5 separate regions of the Homo sapiens genome follow, and all the other regions are linked to region 4. The links are contacts of gene promoters, found by promoter capture Hi-C in blood cells and fetal thymus (Javierre and others, 2016). All regions are on one chromosome and are shown on one strand. Each heading gives the region's core, a stretch centred on a gene start or on the middle of the fragment in contact. The rest is flanking DNA. Distances are from core to core; before and after follow the strand shown. Region 1 overlaps FBF1 (Fas binding factor 1). Region 2 overlaps ACOX1 (acyl-CoA oxidase 1). Region 3 overlaps FBF1 (Fas binding factor 1). Region 4 holds the start of SPHK1 (sphingosine kinase 1). Region 5 has its middle 7.2 kb from the start of EVPL.

Region 1 (2,700 bases), core at 197-2,696, 470 kb before region 4:
AATCTTCTAGTGAAGACCTGAAAATTTGCCCTCAGACAAATTTGCCCTGAAAAGTTGCACGTCTTTAACAAGATATGCAAAGCCCTCTCATTCTAACCTCTTCTCCCTACTCTGTCTTGAAGGCCATGCTCTCCCCCTGTGGGTCTCCCAGCACCGCCCTCCCCGATGTATGTGCTTGATCACCTGCAGGTCCTGCAGGTGGCTGCCTAGATACCAGCTGCCCCTGGGCCGACGTGCCCATCCTTAGACCCCCCCAGCTCTTTGCACAGGTCTGCCTCAGGACTGGTTGAGTCTCTTTTGTGGAGAATCAAATTTGAGACTTAACCAAGGCTTCCAATGGGGCATGTGATACTTCCCTCCTCAGTGTTGGTACCAGCCCCAGAAGCGCCTGAAAAGATCTTCCTCCCACACCAGCACCTACCAGGAGTGTAGCCTGCTCCTCTGGGAGGTAGGAGAGCGGGGTGGCTGACAGCGTGGAGCTTGGGGATTGGCCAGAGCAGAACTCAAATCCAGGCGCAGCTACTCACTGTCATTTCAGGCAGGTTATTTAATCTCCCCGGGCCTCAGTTTCTGCATGTTTGAAGCAGGGCTAATAGTACCCTTCTCCTGGCTGTGGTCCAGCTGCCAGGTGCCACCGCAGACCGCAGGTGCTGGAGGGGAGAGGCACGTGGCCAGAGGCGCCTGGTCCTGACCAATCTTATAGGCTGATCTTTTAATAAGAACATCTGCCTGTTCTTTGGGACTTGTCCAGCAAATAACAGGAAACATTTTCTAAGAAATAAGTATAAACTCCGATGAGCCATGGCAAAAGCAGTTTTTTTAAGCTTAGTCAAGTTGAAGCAGCGGGAGTGGAGGAGGATCAGAGAAACCTCTGTAGTTGTGATTGGTTCCTTGTCGCCTCCACTGCGTACCCGCTGAGCTGGGCTTTGGGCAGGTGAGCAGCACAGAGGCTTCCCTCCTCGTCCCTCCCCACACCCCACCATCGCCACAGCTCCCTCCGCCGCCGGTGGGGCACCCAGATGGGGAGGAAGCTGAGGAGGCCACTGTTCACCCAAACTGGTTGGTCCTTCGGGCAATGCTGGGAATAGGGTGGGGGCTCTGGGCAAGCCCAGGAGGAGGAGGGCCTGGCTGAGTTCCAGGAACATCTCACACCACAAGGGAGGATCTAGCTGGTGCCCTCCCTGTACTGTCAGGAGGCCAGAGGGCCCTTCTCCAGCTCATCAGGGAGGGAACTGCTCTGGCAGGGAGTAGGGAAGGCTGTTTGTGGCATCCCTCAAGAAAGCTCCTGCCTCAGAAGAGGCCCAGGCAAAAAGAGCCCACAACAGTCTACCTGTGGAGCAGGGGGAGCCCACAGAGCCCAGGGGGAGCCCACAGAGCCCAGTGAGAGCTGGGGGTCCTTGCTGCCAACTCAGACCCTCAGATCCAAGCCAATGGCTTTGGGGCAGGGCAGCCAAAGCCATGGTAAGATAGCCTACACCACAGAGCCCCAGAGGCAGGGGCTGCCCCGGGCTGGCACATTTGGAAAGGATGCACTTGCACCCTGTCCACGGAAGAGCTGTCATCAGGCCTCAAGCATCTCAGAATCCTCCCCAGGCACTGCCTCCATGGAGGCAGCCGGAGGAACAGGACAGTTCTGGGGTCCGAACCCTCTGTTGGGGAATCGGCTGGGGTCCCACTCAGGCTGAATGAGATGTCAAATTGTAGGACCCTTTCTTCAGGGTCTCCAGGAAGAACTGTTCATTCTCCAAGAAGTCACGGTCCTGCAAGGCAGGTTTGGATGGGCGGTCACCTTCCCTGAGCTGAGAGGGAGGTGGAGCCCTGGATGCTAGCTGAGCCAGCCGTCACTGAGGCCCCTCCCCACATCGTCCCTGACTCTGCCTGGCTCTGGGAGTCAGCAGGGGCCATGAAAGAGCCCAGGTATGGAGTGAGACAGACCACAGTCTCAATCCTGGCAAGGTTACTTGTTTGCTGTGGAACTTACGAGCACATGACTTCATGTCTCTAAGCCTCAGTTTCCTTGTCTGTAAACATTCCTTGTAGCCCTTCCTTGCAGGGCTGTGTGAGGGTAAAAGCTTAAAAAATACACAAAGCAGGCCAGGCACAGTGGCTCATGCCTGTAATCCTAGCTAATCCGCAGGCCAAGGGGGTAGGATCACTTGAGCCCAGGACTTTGAGACCAGCCGAGGCAACATCGTGAGACCCCATTTCTAAATATAAATAAATAAGTAAAATATAAACAAAGCCTTCGGCATTGAGGTTGGCACACAGGAAATGCTCCATAATGACAACTGTTATCATTATAGTTTTGTTTTGTTTAGTTTGAGACAAGTGCCTTGCTCTGTCACCCAAGCTGAAGTGCAGTGGTGTGAACACACCTGTAGCCTCGACCAGCTGGGCTCAAGCAATCCTCCCACCTCAGCCTCCCAAGTAGCTGGGACTATAGATATGCCCCACCATGCCCAGCTAATTTTTAAATTTTTAATATTTATTTTTTTGAGACAGAGTCTCGCTCTGTTGCCTGGAGTGCAGTGGCACCGTTGTGGCTCACTGCAGCCTCGACCTCCCGGGCTTAAGTGATCCTCTTACCTCAGCCTCCGGAGTAGCTGGGAGTACAGGTGTATGCCACCACGCTCAGCTATTTTTTTGTGGAGACGAGGTCTCACTATGTTGCCCAAGCTGGCCACGAACTCCTGGGCTCAA
Region 2 (2,700 bases), core at 37-2,536, 420 kb before region 4:
TTCAAGACCAGCCTGGCCAACATGGCGAAACCCTGTCTCTACTAAAAATACAAAAATTAAGCAGGCATGGTGGTGCACACCTGTAATCCCAGCTACTCAGGAGGCTGAGGCAGGAGAATTGCTCCAACCCAGGAGGCAGAGGTTGCAGTGAGCTAAGATAACACCACTGCATTCTAGCCTGGGCGACACAGTGAGACTCCATCTCAAAAAAAAAAAAAAAAAGAGAGAGAGAATTTGAAAAGTTGTATAGGGCCAGGCATGGTGGCTCATGCCTGTAATCCTAGCACTTTGGGAGGCTGACGCAGGCGGATCACTTGAGGTCAGGAGTTTGAGACCAGCCTGGCCAACATAGTGAAATCCCGTTTCTACTAAAAATACAAAAAAAAAAAAAAAAAAAAAAGGCCGGGCACCGTGGCTCATGCCTGTAATCCCAGCACTTTGAGAGGCCAAGGTGGGCGGATCACCTGAGGTCAGGAGTTCAAGACCAGCCTGACCAACATGGTGAGACCCCATCTCTACTAAATATACAAAATCAGCCAGGTGTGGTGGCACATGCCTGTAATCCAAGCTACTTGGGAGACTGAGGCAGGAGAACCTGGGAGGCGGTGGTTGCAGTGAGCCGAGATCACACCACTGCACTCCAGCCTGGGCAACAGAGCGAGACTCTGTCTCAAAAAAAAAAAAAAAAAAAAAAAGTTGTATAGAATGGAGAATTTGCTGGGTGTGGTGGCATGTGCCTGTAATCCCAGCTACTTGGGATGCTGAGGCAGAATCGCTTGAAGCCAGGAGTCGGAGAACAGAGAATTTGAGTGGTACTGGTACAAGGATTTCCTCTGATGAGAAAGCGAGACAGAACATAGTAGTTCTCTCAGAGTGACAGTATGACCCCCAGATTATAGTTTTTCCTCGATGCAATTTCAATAATGCTTCTAGGCTGGGATTTTTTTTCTGTTTTGTCCACAAAACATCCAGCGTAGAACCATATTCCTCACATAGCTCTGATCATTTCATTCAGATTCATCATGTCAAATATTCGGCCACGCTCTACTGAAACACTTTAATACAAAAACTGACAGTGCTCTTCATCCCAATAATTTATTTCAGAAATTAAAAAAGACATGCAATTTCTAGTGAAGACCATAATAACGACAAGTTACAGATTCATGCATAAGCTCTCCGTGACAATTATACAGAAATTATCATTAATGATAATAAACAGCTTTATTAGTTTTAAATCAACTTTCTGGGGTCATTCTTTTCCACTTAAAACGTGCAGGGGACAGGATTCTGTGTGAATTTTTGCTAGGGATAGGAAGTCGTTCTATAGGCCTTTGCATTTTTCCACATTACTGGTATTCTGTGTAATTGCCAGCTCCAAATCCGTCAACTCCATATTGCTCTTATCATTCTATGTGTCTTTGAAATGAGCATAAATGACAGTTCAGTTTTTAAATTGCTGTTTGTTCCTTGCAAGGTAGGGAGGAAAAGAACCAGGGCACACTGCTCAGACAAGTGCTAATCAATGACTTCTTCCAATCTAGTGGCTAGGCTTTCAGCTAAGCAATCACACTTTAGAAAAAGAAAAATCAAAGTATGTGTGACTGAATCCCTCATTTTACAGAGGAGAAATTAAGGCTGAGATGAATTAAATGCCTTGCTCAGGGAAAAAAGAAAATGGCAAAACAAGGACAAGAATCTCGTCACCATGGGAGCTGAGCAAGGGGTAAAACATGGACATGCAGAATGGAGTAACAGACACAGGGGCCAGGCGCGGTGGCTCACGCCTGTAATCCCAGCACTTTGGGAGGCCGAGGCAGGGGGATCACCTGAGGTTGGAGTTCAAGACCAGCCTGGTCAACAGGGTGAAACCCCATCTCTACTAAAAATACAAAAACTAGCTGGGCGTGGTGGTGGGTACCTGTAATCCCAGCTACTTGGGAGGCTGAGGCAGGAGAATCACTTGAACCCAGGAGGCAAAGGTTGCAGTGAGCCACGATGGCACCACTGCACTCCAGCCTGGGCGACAGAGACTCTGTCTCGAAAAACAAAAAACAACAACGAACAAAACAGACACTGGAGGCTCCAGAATGTGGAAGGATGGGAGGGGTATGAGGCCTGAAAAGTTACCTACTGGGTACTATGTTCACTATTTGGGCAATGGGTACTGCAAAATCCCAGACTTCACCATTACATAATATATACATGTAAGGAAATGGCACTTGTACCCCCTAAACCTATTTTTTAAAAAAAGAACCACCTTGTCACCTCGTCCTGTCTCCTAGCTGGGGAAATTACTGCACAAGCATAGCATGGACTAAAGACTGTGACTGCAGGCCGGGCGCGGTGGCTCACACCTGTAATCCCAGCACTTTGGGAGGCCAAGGTGGGCGGATCATGAGATCAGGAGATCGAGACCATCCTGGCCAACAAGGTGAAACCCCTCTCTACTAAAAATACAAAAATTAGCCAGGTGTGGCAGCGCCAGCCTCTAATCCCAGCTACTCGGGAGGCTGGGGTAGAAGAATCCTTGAACCCGGGAGGCGGAGGCTGCAGTGAACGGAGATCGTGCCACTGAACTCCAGCCTGGCAACAGAGCAAGACTCTATCTAAAAAAAAAAAAAGACTGTGACTGTAATGAAGATGCTAAAAAGACATGCTGAAAAAGCCAGGGCTGTCCTTAGAAGCCTCAAAAATGGAAAT
Region 3 (2,771 bases), core at 187-2,686, 460 kb before region 4:
GAGAGGCACAGGCTGCCATAGAGTTCTCCATTTTAACTCACACAGCTTCTCCAGGAGCTGCCCATGTTGGACCCAGAGGGCCTGGAACAGCTCGAGGAAGGGAGGAAACTCAAGCTGTCCCCTTACCCCACCACACACACTCAAACACACACACGCACAAATGCTCCTTGGCCTCTCCATCCTGTGCAGAGAAAACCCAAGGACATGAACGCTTCCTACTAGCATCTTCCACGTCCTCAAAGTCTCCCTAGCAGATGCGAGGAGCCGTCTCCCATGCACCTTTCTCACTGGCTACTGACCCACCTGCAGGCTTGGGGTGGTTGGGCAGCTCTCCTTTCCCAGGGTCCTTTGCAGCTTTTTTGCTAGGGGCTGAATTAGATTTCTTCAGACCTAAGATATCAGCATCCATGCCGTCCAGGTCCTAGAAAACCAGGGAGGGAGGGCAGAGGACTATGTCTGATAAGGGGCTGAGGACTTCCACCTGAGAGAGATGGGCTGTTGGCACCCCAGGTGTAGAATTGTGAGAAAACAAAGGAAAATGAGAAAACTGTTGAGAAAAACAGTGAGTGAAGAAAGAAAATGGAACTAAAGGTAAGCAGGGGGAGGTGGAATGGAGTCCAGCTCATGGTTCTGGGATGAGAGACTCAAAGTCAGCACCAAAAATTGAGTCAGAGGACTTGTGGGTTATGCCCAGGGATCCTAGGTGGCTGGTCTCGGGAAAAAAGCTTTCTTTTTTTTCTTTTTTTAGACAGGATATTGGCCGGGCGCGGTGGCTCATGCCTAGAATCCCAGCACTTTGGGCCGAGGCAGGTGGATCACCAGGTCAAGAAATCGAGACCATCCTGGCCAACATGATGAAACCCTGTCTCTACAAAAAATACAAAAATTAGTTGGGTGTGGTGGTGCACGCCTGTAATCCCAGCTACTTGGGAGGCTGAGGTAGGAGAATCGCTTGAACCTGGGAGGTGGAGGTTGCAGTGAGCCGAGATCATGCCACTGCACTCCAGCCTAGGCAACAGAGCAAGACTCCGTCTCAAAAAAATAAAAATAAATTAAAAATAAAATAAAATAAAGACAGAGTCTCACTCTGTCACCCAGGCTGGAGTGAAGTGGTGCGATCATAGCTCATTGCAGCCTCCAACTTCTGAGCTCAAGTGATCCACCTGCCATGGCCTCCCAAAGTGCTGGCATTACAGGAGTAAGCCACCATGCCAGACTTTTTTTTTTTTTTTGAAGACAGAGTCTCACTCTGTCACCACCCAGGCTGTAGTGCAGTGGTGTGATCATAGCTCATTGCAGCCTCCAACTCCTAGGCTCAAGCGAGCCTACTGCCTCGGCCTCCCAAAGTTCTGGGATTACAGGTGCCTGGCCTTTGAGGAGAAAGATTTCAAGATGAGATTAAAGAAGCTGAATCTGGACCGGGTGTGGTGCCTCATGCCTGTAATTACAGTATTTTGGGAGGCCAAGGTAAGAGAATCGCTTAAGGCCAGGAGTTTAAGGTTGCAATGAGATCACACCACTGCACTCCAGCCTGGGTGATAGAATGCGATGGTGTCTCTAAAAAAAAACCCAAAAAACAAAAATACACAACAAAAACAAGAGCCCCACAGGGCTGTAACCAAAAACGCGGCTTTGTCCTAGGGACTGTGGCAAAATGGGTTAACTAAAAGGGACACAAAACCCCAAGGGTCAGACAGGAAGGTGCTGCTGGCTGGAAGGAGAGGGAGAACAAGGTGTCTTAGGCCAAGCTAGAGATTATGTCCTTACAAATTATTCAGAATCTGTGCCTTAAAAATCCATTGCAAAGATTGGCGCTGGGCTTGATCTGATGAGAAGACAGCAGTATTGAAGGGGGCTTGGCAGGGGATGTGGAGAGAAATATGGAGAAAGATTAAGAACAAGCATTAGAGGAAAGAGTCTCCCCCTCTGTCTTCTAGGTGGAGGTGAGGGGACCCAGCTAGGTGGGCCTCCGAGTAGAGCTGGCCCCGTTTCCCCAGAGGCCTGTGGCACTCTCCACTCTCTATATACCAGGAACACTGGTTGATACTCAGAAAGGCAAGGAGGCCAACGGCTCACAGACGAGTTCCATGCTTGCACGAGGAAGGGCTCAGAAACACAGGTTGTAAAGGGAGAAATTAGAAGGAGAATGAAGCTTTGGTACAAAATATCATGACCCCACCCCACCCACCCCCAGTTCTAAGAATCGTGCAAGCTGTTTCCTTACCTTCATGGCCTGGAGCAGAGCCTGTGGGTCTGCCTCTGAGATACCTGAAACCTAAGTCCACAATGAGGGTGAGGACACAGATGAGGAGGCACATTAGTCAAGGCCCAATAAAACTCAGGGTCCTGGCCCCTTGCTTCTGTTAGGGCAGACGGCGCGGCAGGAGCAGAGCTTGGCCAATGGAGCTTACACAGGAGGGTGGCTTTGTTCCCCTTGCTTGGGCTTGGCAGTTGTTTGAAGCCAAACCTGCCTGGTTTTAGAGACTCAGAGAGCACTGCCATTCCTACTCCTTCCAACCATAGAGAACTCTTCCATCCAGGACTGAAATTCTGCTACTTCCCACCCATGCCAATGGACAGCTATGGAGTTTATAAGGGGAAAGGAGCAACATCTAAGACTCTAGCAGTTTCAGGGAGCTCTCCTTTCCACTCATCTTACTACAGGAAAGAGGATTCTGCTTTGGGTCCACTCGGCAGCCCTTGGGCATTATTTACAGTGGCTCACGCCTGTAATCCCAGCACTTTGGGAGGCCGAGGCGGGTAGATCACTT
Region 4 (2,700 bases), core at 201-2,700:
TCCTGTTTCTCGGAGTTTTTCGACCCCTGAGCGCGTCGCTGAGTCACCTTCCCGGAACGCGCTCGGGACGCTCTGGACCCAGCGGGGACTGCCCGGGGGCCGCGCAAGGCGAAGGCGCACCCGCCGATACGCGCGCGGAGCTGCGGCCCCAGGGACCCCGCGTCCCAGCCAGTGCCCCCCGACCCGCCCGGGGACTCTCGGGTCCCGCCCGTCTGACCCCCCAAGTGTTGGGAAACGGGGCCGAGCTGCCTGGGTCCTCCGGAAGAGAAGACACCGCGGAGGCGTGCCGGAGTTCAGGGCGCCGCCCGGCTAATTGGCTGCGTGCTCCTCCTGGACCTGCCTCTTCTCGACTTTAAGAAGCGATGAGAGAGGTGTGTGGGGGCGGGTGGGGCCGGCGGGGGCGCGCGAGCCCCGCAGCCTCCCGCAGGGGCTTGGTTTCTCCTAACTCTGGCCCTACCTGGGCAGGTCACCAATGGGCCTTGGCAACTTCTTCCTCCGTCTCCGCCGTAACCCCCCAGGGATCTAACTCGAGGTGCTCGCGGACACGTTCTGTGGCTTGCCGCGATAAGTGTATCACAAACACACTGACAAACGCGTCCCTACTGGCCTCCAAAGAAGTGACAACTTCTGAGCGCGTTTCCGGCGCCCCTTCTTCACGCTGAGCCAGAGGGGGCGGGGGGCACGTACCACATGCTTGGCTTTCCAATCCCGACGGGGGCCCCCAGGCCCATCTACACTGTCAAGCCTCCTCTCCGGCTCGGAGCCCCCGGCCTGTCGCCTGCTCTACCCGGGACAGCGCGCTAGGCGGCCTCAGGCTCGGTAGCCCAGCTGCAGCGTCGGGAAGTTAAAAATAACCTCCGTGGGAGCGCGGGGGAGGAAGAAAGAGGGAAGCTGGTGGGCGGCGGGCGAGACGCCCCGGCCTGGAGAGGCGCCCCGGGTGGCGTGCGGGCCTCGAATTTCGGGTGGGCTAGGGCAGAGCGCGCAAAAGGGGCGCTGCATCCCGGCGCCGACAGCACCCGCGGGGGCGAGGTCGTGGCGTCGAGGTGAAACCAAGGGTCCCCCGGGAGAGCGGAGCCGCGCGCGCCCGGCGCTCGCTCCGACACGAGTTCGCGCGGAGCCCGCGCCTCCGTCTGCGCTGCGCGGTCGCTTTCGCGCGCCCCAGACACTGCGCTCGCGGCCGGGCCCGGGACTCCGCGCCTCGCGGCCTGCCGCCTCAGCTCACCCGGCCAGGTCGCGGCGCCGCCTTCTAGCCAGACGCCTAGGACGAGCGGCGGGGGCGCGCTTGCCGCTTCCTAGGACCCGGGCGGGAACCAGCTCGTGGCCCGGCCGTGGGCGCGGGCCGTGCCGGAGGCGGCGCGCTGAGGCCGGAGGCGGGCAGAGGCCGAGGCCGCGCCGGGCTCAGGTTCCACCCCCGGGAGCGCGGGGCGGAGCCAGGCCGGCGCCGAGGCTCAGTGCCCTCCCCGCTCCGCGGCGCCGGCTGCGAAGTTGAGCGAAAAGTTTGAGGCCGGAGGGAGCGAGGCCGGGGAGTCCGCTCCAGCGGGGCGCTCCAGTCCCTCAGACGTGGGCTGAGCTTGGGACGAGCTGCGTTCCGCCCCAGGCCACTGTAGGGAACGGCGGTGGCGCCTCCCCAGCAAACCGGACCGACTGGGTAGGGCCGCCCACCCTGCCTTCGCGCCGCTCGTGGCTCCTGTGCGGCCCGCCCTCGCGGGGCCCCGGGAACTGGGCCACTTGTCGCTTGGGCGAGAGCAGGCGGCAGCTGGTGGCCCGGTTCGGGCTTGGCTTTGGCGCGACCCGGGAGCGGCTCCCACGAGCGCCGCGCGCGTCGCAACGGAGCGGGGCCCTGAGAAGCGCGCGCCGCGGCTCCCACCGCTCTGGAGCTCCGGGCAGGGGACACGGCAACCTGGATGGCTGGGGCAGGGATCCTCTCCCAGAACTTCGTGCCCAGCAATGTCCGCTCAAGTTCTGGGATTTTTACGCAGCTGGACTCCCCTCCCCCTGGCAGCCCCGAGGGGTGAGGAGCTAGTCCGTCGGAGGGAGCCACGGGGCTCTGACTCATCCGTCGGGCCGGAACCGAACCCCAAGCCCCAGGGAGAAAGCCCCGGAGCAGGCGCCCTTCTCAGGGATTGTAGGCTTAGTCACACGGCGGGGGCGCCCTCGGAGGCACCGGACCTCAGCTCTCTGGACTTCCCGGGAACCTGGCTCCCCGCGCGTGGTCCCGGGATTTAGTCGGGCGCTCCCCACCTCTGGCAGCTGCGGCCCCGGACTCCGCCAGCGCTGTCTTCTCTCCCTCAGGTCCAGCCGCCGCAGGGAATGACGCCGGTGCTCCTGCAGCCACGGCTCCGGGCGGGGAAGGCGAGCCCCACAGCCGGCCCTGCGACGCCCGCCTGGGCAGCACCGATAAGGAGCTGAAGGCAGGAGCCGCCGCCACGGGCAGCGCCCCCACAGCGCCAGGGACCCCCTGGCAGCGGGAGCCGCGGGTCGAGGTTATGGATCCAGGTTTGTGGGGTTCCTGCTGGGAAGGGCTGTAGGGGGATTCCTGTTCCTCGCCAGGAATGATGGAACGCCCAGCTGGACGAAAGGGGCTGTGGACGATCGGGAGAAACATTATCCCTCACGAGGCCAGAAGCCGGCCGAATCTGAGCCAAGGAAGGGGGTGGCAGGGGCGCCGCGTCCCCACCCCAGGTCTCCCAGCAAAGGCCG
Region 5 (2,786 bases), core at 22-2,521, 350 kb before region 4:
GCAAGAAAGAGAACATAGAGGGAACCCCTGGAATCCTCAAAACCAAGGCTGCCTTAGGGTATCTGTCCCTCCCTCTGAACCATCCCCTTTCCCTGGGAGAAAGGGGACCCACAGCACCAGCCCCAGTTCAGCTGTAGGACTGATGCTGGTGCAGCCCACTCCCCAGCCCCTGCAGCCATCTCGTGCATGAGCCATCCCTGCATTCCAGAAGTCTGCAGCCCAGCCAGTCTTACTCAGGAACTGGTAGGCCCAAGGGCTCTGGGCCTCTCTGCCACCTTTAAGATAATAGCTGTCCTTACTAGCTAGGTCCGGGGACCTGCAGCCCTATTTTGGAGAAGTGCGGATGTGACGGAGGCAGCCAGCTAACTGTCCATGCCAAGATAATGACCTGCGTTGCCGCTTGAGAAAATGTCCCACCGGCTGCACCACAGCAGCAGGGGTCTGGTGGCATCTGGCACTGTTCACTGTTCAGAGGGAGAAAAAGGTTTATAAAACAGACAAACATGAAAACGAAGGAACAAGAAGTTCTCATAGCTGCCTGATTTGTCTCTATTGTCAGGAAGCTGGAAAGGGGAGGTTAAACCACCCAGCACAGACAGCAGCTAGTCAGACCCAAACTATTGTCTGAATGGCATTGCATAGACTTAGGAGGACTTCCTGGGAAGGGGAAGACAAGGACGCAGGCTGGCTGAGTGGAAGGCTCTCTCAGCTATGTGTACCCATCGACTCAGGGTACAGCAGCCCACACTGTCTTGGGGTCTGGGCTCAGAACATTTTGGGGGAACCTCCTCACTGTCTCCTCCCAGCAACTTTGAGACGCAGCCGCCCCTGTTGTACAGGAGCTGGAGTGTGCTCAGAGGCAATGGACTAGTCAGTGTGGGGCAGGGATCCAGGAGCTCGGAGGACCCTGGGCACCTGCTCTCTCTGCCTCACACCTCTTCTTAGGCAGCATGGGAGGCACTGCCTGGTGAGGCCTTTGCACAGCCACGTCTGTCTCCATTCCACAGATGAGCCGCAGCTAACGTTACTCAGCTTTCACTGGCCCAGGTACCTGCCCGTCATAGCTGGATTGCTAGGTCAGAAGATCCCTGGGGAAGCACTTTGGGGGGCCGAAGCTGCGGATCACCTGAGGTCAGGAGTTCGAGACCAGCCTATCCAACTTGGTGAAACCTCGTCTCTACTAAAAATACAAAAATTAGCTGAGCATGGTGGCACATGCCTGTAATCCCAGCTACTCAGGAGGCTGAGGCAGGAGAATCACTTGAACCCGGGAGGCAGAGGTTGCAGTAAGCTGAGATCGTGCCATTGCACTCCAGTGTGGGCAACAAGAGTGAAACCTCATCTTGGAATAATAATAATAATAATACTTCTACTGGATGCTTGTAGAGCCCCTCACTCTGTGCCAGATGGTGCTCAGAGCAGAGGGTGGACCCAGAGGCCAGGGCCTATCTACTGTGTGCAACCCGCACAGCCTGCCACCCCAGCTGGCCCTGGGCGGTGCCCCCAGCCACAGCCCCTCCCAGGTCCTCCTCCCAAGTGTCTCTAACATCTAACAGAATAACAGGTTGGATTCTTCCAGTTGGTGTTGTCAGGATGCAGGCAATTTCCAATTTATTCTCTTTGCTTTGGAACATCGATAAATTTTACAGCTAAATCTGCTTTCCATCTCCTCTGTAGCAACAACTGTCTTCAAACAAAAAATTAGAACCAACACATATTTTTGCTATCTTTGGATATTTTCCTAGACCTCTAAATGTCCCAGGCTTTTCAAGGCTGCAGACAGAATTGTGCTGTTTAGAATTCTGTGATCAGTTGGCTTTTTTGTGTGTGACTAACGACACCTCGTATGTGAAAAATTAGCGCTGCCACAGCGATGACAGTGAACAGAGCACAGTCCCACCCTCAAAGCCCCTGGCGTTGGCCTTCCTCTCCTAGAGGGGGTGAAGCCTCTGCCTCAGCTTTTGGGAGGAAAGTCCTGGCTCTGGCCCAGAGCCGCTATGGGTTGAGGATGGCCTGTCATCACAGGCTGTCACCTTGTGCTTGTGGTGACAGGCTCAGGTTGCCACCAGGGGAAGGGGTCGGAACCAAGCCCAGCACCGTTTCATTTCAAAGAGGGAATCCAAGAGTTCTCACTGATTTAATGTAAAACCAGAGAGGAGACAGCAAATCCAAACAACATTCGGGAAGAGAGGAACAGGCCAGGAGACCCAGCAGCAAAGGCCAGTGCCATCCTCAGCCACCTCGTGCTCCTGACCCTCACCCAGCAGGCCTGGTGGGGCTTGCCTGGAACAGAGAATAGAAACTATGATCACATAGGCCAGGCGTGGTGGCTGACGCCTGTAATCCCAGCACCTTGGGAGGCTGAGGCGGGTGGATCACGAGGTCAGGCATTTGAGACCAACCTGGCCAATAGAGTAAAACCCCATCTCTACTAAAAATACAAAAAATTAGCTAGGCGTGGTGGCGCATGTCTGTAATCCCAGCTACTCGGAAGGCTGAGGCAGGAGAATCGCTTGAATGGGAGGCGGAGGTTGCAGTCAGCCAAGATCACACCACTGCTCTCCAGCCCGGGCGACAGTGTCAGACTCCATCTCAAAAAAAGAAAAGCCCAGGTGCGGTGGCTCATGCCTGTAATCCCAGCACTTTGGGAGGCTGAGGCGGGTAGATCATGAGGTCAGGAGTTTGAGACCAACCTGGCCAAAATGGTGAAATCCCCATCTCTACTAAAAATACAAAAATTAGCTGGGCGTGGTGGTGGCCACCTGTAATCCCAGCTACTCGGGAGG

The links. The method cuts DNA at HindIII sites, captures the fragments that hold promoters and counts their contacts. A CHiCAGO score of 5 or more calls a contact.
Region 1: a contact is called between a fragment that was not itself captured here and the fragment with the promoter of SPHK1 in region 4, in 4 of 17 cell types (naive CD4 T cells, erythroblasts, activated CD4 T cells and 1 more). The highest score is 6.1, in naive CD4 T cells.
Region 2: a fragment that was not itself captured here is called in contact with the fragment with the promoter of SPHK1 in region 4 in 1 of 17 cell types (non-activated CD4 T cells); the score reaches 5.5 in non-activated CD4 T cells.
Region 3: a fragment that was not itself captured here is called in contact with the fragment with the promoter of SPHK1 in region 4 in 3 of 17 cell types (activated CD4 T cells, naive CD8 T cells and total CD4 T cells); the score reaches 5.8 in activated CD4 T cells.
Region 5: a contact is called between a fragment that was not itself captured here and the fragment with the promoter of SPHK1 in region 4, in 2 of 17 cell types (total CD4 T cells and activated CD4 T cells). The highest score is 5.6, in total CD4 T cells.

The regions. Positions count from the first base shown.
Region 1 is chr17:75,909,047-75,911,746 of GRCh38, forward strand. FBF1 (Fas binding factor 1) reads right to left here. Exons shown (of 30, transcript NM_001319193.2): 30 at 528-1,760. The coding sequence ends at 1,677. Among named protein-coding and RNA genes, the nearest start is that of MRPL38, 5.5 kb to the left of the region's middle. RefSeq lists a silencer at 1,817-1,977. The HindIII fragment of the contact is 1,248 bases long and covers 823-2,070 here.
Region 2 is chr17:75,961,088-75,963,787 of GRCh38, forward strand. All of the region lies in intron 2 of ACOX1 (acyl-CoA oxidase 1), which reads right to left. Among named protein-coding and RNA genes, the nearest start is that of ACOX1, 17 kb to the right of the region's middle. The HindIII fragment of the contact is 6,369 bases long and covers 1-2,700 here.
Region 3 is chr17:75,927,773-75,930,543 of GRCh38, forward strand. It overlaps FBF1 (Fas binding factor 1), which reads right to left. Exons shown (of 30, transcript NM_001319193.2): 7 at 2,225-2,275; 8 at 304-421. Among named protein-coding and RNA genes, the nearest start is that of FBF1, 12 kb to the right of the region's middle. The HindIII fragment of the contact is 1,427 bases long and covers 724-2,150 here.
Region 4 is chr17:76,383,159-76,385,858 of GRCh38, forward strand. It overlaps SPHK1 (sphingosine kinase 1), which reads left to right and starts at 1,451. Exons shown (of 6, transcript NM_001142601.2): 1 at 1,451-1,648; 2 at 2,293-2,496. The coding sequence starts at 2,487. RefSeq lists silencers at 89-378, 399-538, 1,119-1,818. The HindIII fragment of the contact is 9,575 bases long and covers 1-2,700 here.
Region 5 is chr17:76,033,136-76,035,921 of GRCh38, forward strand. No RefSeq gene overlaps it. Among named protein-coding and RNA genes, the nearest start is that of EVPL, 7.2 kb to the left of the region's middle. RefSeq lists an enhancer at 860-1,467. The HindIII fragment of the contact is 7,176 bases long and covers 1-2,786 here.